Linked DNA regions of Homo sapiens: region 1 is linked to region 2. The links are contacts of gene promoters, found by promoter capture Hi-C in blood cells and fetal thymus (Javierre and others, 2016). All regions are on one chromosome and are shown on one strand. The core of a region is centred on a gene start or on the middle of the fragment in contact, and the rest is flanking DNA. Distances in the headings are between cores, read along the strand shown.

Region 1 (3,781 bases), core at 91-2,590, 730 kb after region 2:
AACATTAATTGTATAATTTTTATCAGATAACTTAGTGAACTCTTTTGTTTTCATTTCATTATCTTGAATTTTCTAGGGAGACAAAAGTGTCCTTTGTAAAGAATAAACCTCTCTTCTTTCATATTAGTAGACCTTTTTCTGCTTCTTTTCATAGTTAACTAGCCAAAATTTTGTTTCCTGGTGACAATTTAATATTCCTCTACAATAGAAGAAAACAGTCTCCTTATATCTGTATAGTACATGTATTAGCTGTAGTAAAATAAGAACTCCAGGGCATGCTGTATAACTCAAAGAAAGTAAGGAAGTGGCACTCTTGCTATAAACAACCTTGGTAGAATTACAAAGAATATTAGTTGTGGTGTGATGCTGCCCTCAAGTGGTTTCATCAAAAAAGGGTGGATGGAAAACAAGACCATATAACTGACTTCAGATGTCAGCCATTTAGTTCCAGAAATATCCAGAATGAGGCTGTAGATAGGGAAGATGGCTGGAGGATCTGTTTAGAAGCAGAAGGTGGATATAGGATATAAATTAATGCTGTTTGGGTTTTTACTATTAATGTGATTTCATTAATACTTACAGAATGGATTATACCAGTAAACCATATTTAACTGTCTCAGATAAGCCCTCCTTAGACATGGAATTGATTGACTAACTTCCTTTGGTGTGTCATGGGAAGCTTTTGGCCATGAGATTGTCAGGAACTTAAGTTCAGATAAATCTCTTTTAGGAAGCTAGTTCATACCACAAGTTCTCTTAAGGCATATCAAGTTAGCACCAAGCAAAGGGATGTTCCCTTGCTGCCTGCATACCAATTATGTAGTTAACCGTGGGAGACATTACTACCTGAAAACTCCGTACTATTCTTTTCTTATGCCATTCAGCGTCACTTAACCGAAAAGTCAATACCCAGGATGAGAAACCATTGCTCTCCCTTCAGGATGGCTTTCTTTTTTGGGAACTTGGCTTTTTGAGTAGTTCTTCATCTGAGCTTATATTTTTCTTTTTCTCTTTCTACTCAAAAACTTATTGAAGAATTGGGGGCAAGTTTATGTTCCTTCCTGTGACTTAGAAACTGTTAAAGCTGTTAGACAGCTAGCCAAGATTCTAAAGAAACCCAGACAAGGCAGGGTGGAGACCGAGAGGAGAAATTTATTCCAGAAATTAACTGTTAGCAGTAGTGTTTCTTAATACATAAGCTATATCATACTCCTCAAGTAGATTCTTTGCTTAAAACTTTCACTGTAAATAATTTTATAGCAACCATGTGAATAACTTAAGAATAATAGAATCAGTCTCATTTGTAGGCACTGTAGACCATCTCCATTCCCTACATGTCAGAGACTCTGGGGGATGAATTGGAGATATTAAGAGGTAAAATGATGCAGAGAAGACCAAGGTCAGCAGAAGTCAAATACTTCTATTTCTTTAAAATTTTGCTTAGGCTACGCCTGGCTATTTTGAAGTGTAAGTCCATAAGATATTTTCCTCCATTGATTAATCTTTATTGATAAAGTATTAGCCGTTACAGCTCTTTTGGGATATTTGGCTATTCCTCGGTGTCCTAGATAATACTAAAATTTATTGTACTTTTGCCTTTGTTCCAGAACTATGCTACATGCTCTATATGCACAGTACAATGAAGAGCTACAGAGTTTAAAATGTGATTGAAAAACCCAGCTGTATCTAATGACTGATTACATTAACTATCTAGATCTCTTTGGATAACTTTTTGTTTTTTTCTTATTCCTTTATATTTCTTATTTCTTTTCAGATTTATTTATTGATGATAAAGGAATACTTTTTGTAAGTAGTAGAAAACACCTACCAACTTTGCCTACTCTCTTGAGTAGACTAAAACTGTTTTTGGTAAAGGATCCTCTTTTAGATTTCAAAGGACAGATCTTCACAGAAGCTAATTTTTCCAGGTACTTACTTAATTGACCAATGCTGTAAATATTTTTAAGAGGTGAAAATGTTTTAGTATGATCACAAGCTTAGATGTTATCAACAATGTTTTTTTTTGTTTTGTTTTGAGATGAGTCTTGCTCTGTCGCCCAGGCTGGAGTACAATGGCGCAATCTCGGCTCACTGCAACCTCCGCCTCCTGGGCACATGCGATTCTCCTGCCTCAGCCTTGCTGAGACTACAGGCGTGCGCCACTGTGCCCAGCTAATTTTTGTATTTTTAGTAGAGACATGGTTTCACCATGTTGGCCAGGCTGGTCTTGAACTCCTGACCTCAGGTGATCCACCCGCCTCGGCCTCCCAAAGTGCTGGGATTACAGGCGTGAGCCACTGCACCCGGCCAATAACTTTTATCATCGTTTTACCTCAACTTTAATTTTAATGATTATGTGTTTTGGTTGGCTACATTTAGTATGTAACTTGCTTTTAGTAAACACTAATTAATGTATTTTTTTTTAAGGGAATGTTTCTCTCTTCAAGAAACTTTGGAAGCTTTTGTGAAAGAAGATTTTTGTATGGATAAAGTGAACTTTTGTCAAGAGAAACTAGAAGATACAATATGTTTAAATGAGGTTGTAATACTGGCTTTCAATAATATTTTAGTAAAAGTAGTGAGGCACATTTTTGTAAAATTTGTGTAATATACATTGTCTACAATTGTCAAATTAAAAAGATTTTATAATGGAATGAACATGTATCAATTAAGAAGTCAAATTTACTTCTAAATAGTGGTTCTCAGCCTTGGCTGTATGTTGGAATTACCTGAATAGTTAAAAAAAAATGTTGAAGCCTGAGATATATTCTGATAAATTGGTCTGGTGTGCAGGCCAGTCATAGGGAACTTTAAAATCTCTTCCAATAATTGTAATCAATATACCTGGTATAGGAAATTAAGTAGTCATGTCTAGTTTAAAAATTGACACCTGAACTAGAAATATTGATTTGTGAGTTATACACAAAAAATAGTACTTGAGCTAATGAGAATATTGCAAGAGTAAGAATATAGAGGGTCCAAGACTGAATTTTAGTTTTCTGCCAGTGTTTAACAAGGATGATAGCATCTTTTGCATATTAAAGGCCAAACTTCTCAAAGATGCATTTAGTTTCAATAGCACACAAAATGGTCATAATATCAGTATGTAAAGAATTCTAGCTATTGCGATTGCAATAACTTTTTGCAGCTGGACAAGCTCAGAAATCTAGGCCCATATTGATTAGATGCGTTCACAAAGCTACTTTAAAAAAACATTTTTTGGCCGGGCGCGGTGGCTCACGCCTGTGATCCCAGCACTTTGGGAGGCCGAGGTGGGCAGATCACGAGGTCAGGAGATCGAGACCATCCTGGCTAACATGGTGAAACTCTGTCTCTACTAAAAATACAAAAAATTAGCCAGGCATAGTGGTGGGCGCCTGTAGTCCCAGCTACTCGGGAGGCTGAGGCAGGAGAATGGCGTGAACCCAGGAGGCGGAGCTTGCAGTGAGATCGCACCACTGCACTCCAGCCTGGGTGACAGAGCGAGACTCCATCTCAAAAACAAAACACAAAAAACATTTTTTTAGGACAACTTAAAATGTTTTATATTTGGAGATTTTAATGGACTTAAAGCACTTAAGGGGTTTCCTTACAATAAAAATTTTAACATGATGGTAAAAAGGTTAATTCACCAATAGGCCCCATTCCTCCAGTACCTCTTGCTTCCCAGGTTAACCCTGAGAGTTGTGGACTTAGTCTCTCTTGTTGAGGAGTCAAGTTCTGTTGGAATGAAAGAGAAACATACTCCATGGATCACAGTAAAGATCTATTCCATTCCATG
Region 2 (3,832 bases), core at 1-2,500:
ACCTGACTGGCTTGTTAGCTGTTTATTTCGTCGGGAGAGGATTCCGTCTTGCGAATCCTAACGAGTTCGGGAAAAAACAAAACTTTACTCCTAAACTTCAAAACACACACACACACACACACACACACACGCACACACACTAAATACATATAATTGTAAAAATCACAGCCACGTTCATTTTTTTTAAAGTCCCAATCTAAAACCTTAAAGAAAAAAAAAGACTTGAAGGAACCAAAAACATTCTTTGATTTTGGTTTGACGTTGTTCAGTCCAACCTCCTCCTACCCAGGGGAATACATTTCTCGATATATTTGATAACAAACACAAATCACTGTGCGCAGCCTCAGATGGGGGTGGGGGGGCGGAAGAGCCTTTTGGAGAAAGCCCTCCTCCGTTAGAAACAATAAATAAGGGAGCGAAGCCATGCACGTTCCTTCACACACGCCCCAAACGCACCTCGGCGAGCCACCCGAGGAGGAAAACTAGTGGGGCAGAGCCCTGAACCACCTCTCTTTCTCCATAAGCATCTCAAGACTTGGAAACTAAGAGGACAGACCTTTTCCTCCTCCTTCCCGCCCTCCTTCCCACCTCCGACAGACCCAAGAGCAGGAGCGGGGGCGCCAGCCCCACGCACTGCGCCTGCAGCCGCCGCTGAGACCCGAGCTGCCGGGCGGCGGGGCGGCCCGGGGCAGGCGGACCGGAGCCGCCACCGGGGGTCTCTGCGCCTCGCACCCCCAAGCCCGGCGCTGCCGACGAGCGGCCGCCCGGGTCCCTGCCCTCGCTCCGGCCTCGCTCCCCCGAGAGGAGACAAAAGGAAGGTTCAGCCGGGTCACCGCGCGGCCGCTGACGGGGAAGCAGAGTCGACCCCGGCGCGGCCGCCCCCCACACAAAGGGGCTCCCCGCCTGGGTCGCGGCGTCGGCGCACTCGTCCCCGCCCCGCGCGCGGGCTCTCACCCACCTGCAGGTGTCTGTGCGTCTGTCCATAGGAACGCGGTCGGCGCGGGGGGGCCTGCGAGAGCCGGGCAGCCCGGGCTGGACGGGACGGGCCGAAGGGGCGCGAGGGCGGGAGGAGAGCGGCCAGAGGGCCGGGCACCAAAGGTAAGTGGAGCGGGGAAGGCGCCCGGCGGGCGGCGGACCGAGGAGCGGGGCGGGGGGCGGGGGCGCCAGCCTGGCTCGGCCGACCGCCGCGCGCCGCTCCGTGCGCCCCGAGCTCCGCGCGCCCGGCTCGGAGCGCGGCGGGCGGGCAGGGGGCGGGGCGCGGGCGGGCCGGGGCGGGGCCGGCGAGCGGGGCGGGGGCTCGGACCCCGGGCTCCAGCCGGCACCGGAAACGCGCCGTGGTCGGCGAGACCCACAGGAAGTGTGTAACGACACCTCCTACGGCACGCACCGAGCTCGCAGTCGTTGCTGCCCCGAGGAGGTGTAGATCGAGCCTCCTGCCGCACACACGTTCGCACGCGGCGGCCGGCGCGCTGGACCGAGAGGTTGGAGCAATCCATCCTCCGCGCGCACGAGCTCAGTCCCTACTGCCCCGACAGGTGTGGAACCCGCCGTCCCCGCTATGGTCCGAGGAAGTGTACAGCACTGCTCCCTACTACACGTCCTGGGCCCGCGGTCCCCGATGCCCCCCGGAGCTCTGTGCACCTCCACTGAAACGCAAGGAGCAGACAGAACCTACACCATCCGTGAGGTGTGTGATTTCCCTTATAACGCATTGAGTAGAGTTACCTCTCCGCCCAGGGATGTGCATTAACACTTTCTACCGAGATACTACGTACAGCCCATAGTCACCGCTGCCCCGTGAAGGTGCCCAACAACCACCTGTAACACACACACCCCTATCCCATCGAGGGAGCGGGGATGCTTAATGATACCTAAAATACACTAAAACTAGGTCCTCCAGCAAACCAGAGACACAAGAACACCACCTACACGACTCAGCACAGCAAAGATGAAGCTGGACTTGCTAGGTGCTACCAGGCTTGGTCCACCTTTATTTTACCTAACACTTTCGTAGTACTTGCTGTGTGCCCACAGTTTGCACTGAGTACTTAGCGAATATTAATTTATTTAATCCTAAGAACTCTACATAGTGGGTGCTATTAACATTGCCATTTTATGATAAGGAAACTGAGGCACAGAGAAATTAAGAAATTTTTTCAACATCACATAGATAGTAGCTAGAGGAGCCTGGATTCATTCCGGACAGTCTGGCTTCAGAGTCTGCTCTTAACTCCCTTTCTATTTACAGCACTGACCATCTCCAAAACAGTAATCATGGTAATAAATAACATTTACACCATATCTGTCAGGCCTTACGTAGTGCCCACATCTTGGCCTCACCTCATCTGTGACAGGCATACCCCAGTCACTTGTACCCTTGGAGTAGGTAAGGGAAGAGAAGAATATTTTTGAGGGAGAGAAAGAAGCTAACTTCTTAGCAAAGGAGAAAATATCCAGGGTCGTCCAGAATCCAAGCAGGTAACTTCATTACCACATCAAGCATGTTCTCTTTTAGGTAGCTTCTGCCAACCCCTCTCCATCTCTAGAGCTGATTCCGGTTGATGTTCTTAACACCTTCCTCTATCAACACTCTTCCAGGTCTAGGCTGAAATTTAAAATCTGTGTAAATGTTGACACAATAATGTTTGTACAAACAAAAAAGACCAAAAATGAAAACCCCCTAGTTAATTGCTGCATATTCTAAAGATGGGATCTTGTGGAGAAATTGGAACTCTTATGCAATGCTGATAGGAATGTAGATGGTACCACCACTATGCAAAACAGTGGGGAAGTTCCTCAAAAAACTAAAACTAGAGCTACCATATGATCCAGCAATCCCACTTCTGGGTAAATATCCAAAAGAATTGAAAGCAGGATATCGAAGAGATATTTGCACATTCATGTTCATTGCAGCACTATTCACAATAGCCAAGAGGTTGAAGCAGCCCAAATGTTCATCAACAGATGAAGAGATGAATGAAAATGTGATATATACATATAATGGAATATTATTCAGCCTTAAAAAGGAAGGAAATCTTATCACAGGCTACAACATAGATGAACCTTGAGGATGTTGTGCCAAGTGCAATAAACCAGTCACAAAAGGACAAATACTGTTATGATTTGACCTATATGAACTATGTAGAGGTATGTAAACTGTGGGATTATGTCAAACTTGTGGAAACAAGACGGTAGAATAGTGGTTGCTAGAGGGTAGAGGGAGGGGAAAATGGTGATATAATGTTTACTGGGTACAGAGTTTCAATTTTGCAAGATGAAAAATTTCTAGAGATGTTACACAATAATGTAAATATAACACCACCGAACTGTACACTTAAAAGTAGTTACAAAGGTAAATTTTAAATTGTTTTTGCCACAATCAACTTCAAAACAAATCTAATTTTATTTGTTTAAAGGATATTTCACTACAATGAATTTTTTTAATGATGCAGGCATCCAACCATGATGAGGTACCTTGTTGAACAAACTAACTCTGCCACTGAGAACGATGAAAGCTGTTTAAAAAAATAAATAAGTCTGTTTAAAACAATTGGAGAGCAACCCTGTCATCCAAGGCTTGAGAGTCCACGAGCCCCCCAGGAAGAAGAGAAATACTCTGAAGTGAGTCCTGCATTCTCAGCCGCTTTTCCTTCTCAGGGCATTGTTGATTTGTGTCTAGGAGTGTAGAAGTCAGAAAGAAGCACCCTAGAGCTTACCGGCAGTCTTACTGGCCTGGAGATACAAAATTTGGAGTCAGGTCTATTAAGGCAGCTAGGACTTGAAAAACGAAGATCCTAGAGAAAGCAATCACAGTAAACCTAGTGGGTTGGCT

The links. Contacts are between HindIII fragments. The CHiCAGO score rates a contact against its expected background, and 5 or more counts as called.
Region 1: a fragment that was not itself captured here is called in contact with the fragment with the promoter of KIAA1958 in region 2 in 1 of 17 cell types (fetal thymus); the score reaches 5.1 in fetal thymus.

Annotation. Positions count from the first base shown.
Region 1 is chr9:111,756,842-111,760,622 of GRCh38, reverse strand. SHOC1 (shortage in chiasmata 1) reads left to right here. Exons shown (of 28, transcript NM_001378211.1): 6 at 1,775-1,928; 7 at 2,428-2,539. Among named protein-coding and RNA genes, the nearest start is that of SHOC1, 36 kb to the left of the region's middle. The HindIII fragment of the contact is 1,317 bases long and covers 682-1,998 here.
Region 2 is chr9:112,484,245-112,488,076 of GRCh38, reverse strand. KIAA1958 reads right to left here and starts at 1,250. Exons shown (of 4, transcript NM_133465.4): 1 at 959-1,250. HSDL2-AS1 (HSDL2 antisense RNA 1) reads left to right here and starts at 433. Exons shown (of 5, transcript NR_171779.1): 1 at 433-1,098; 2 at 1,536-1,687. RefSeq lists silencers at 652-1,141, 1,222-1,281 and an enhancer at 1,712-1,771. The HindIII fragment of the contact is 12,105 bases long and covers 1-3,832 here.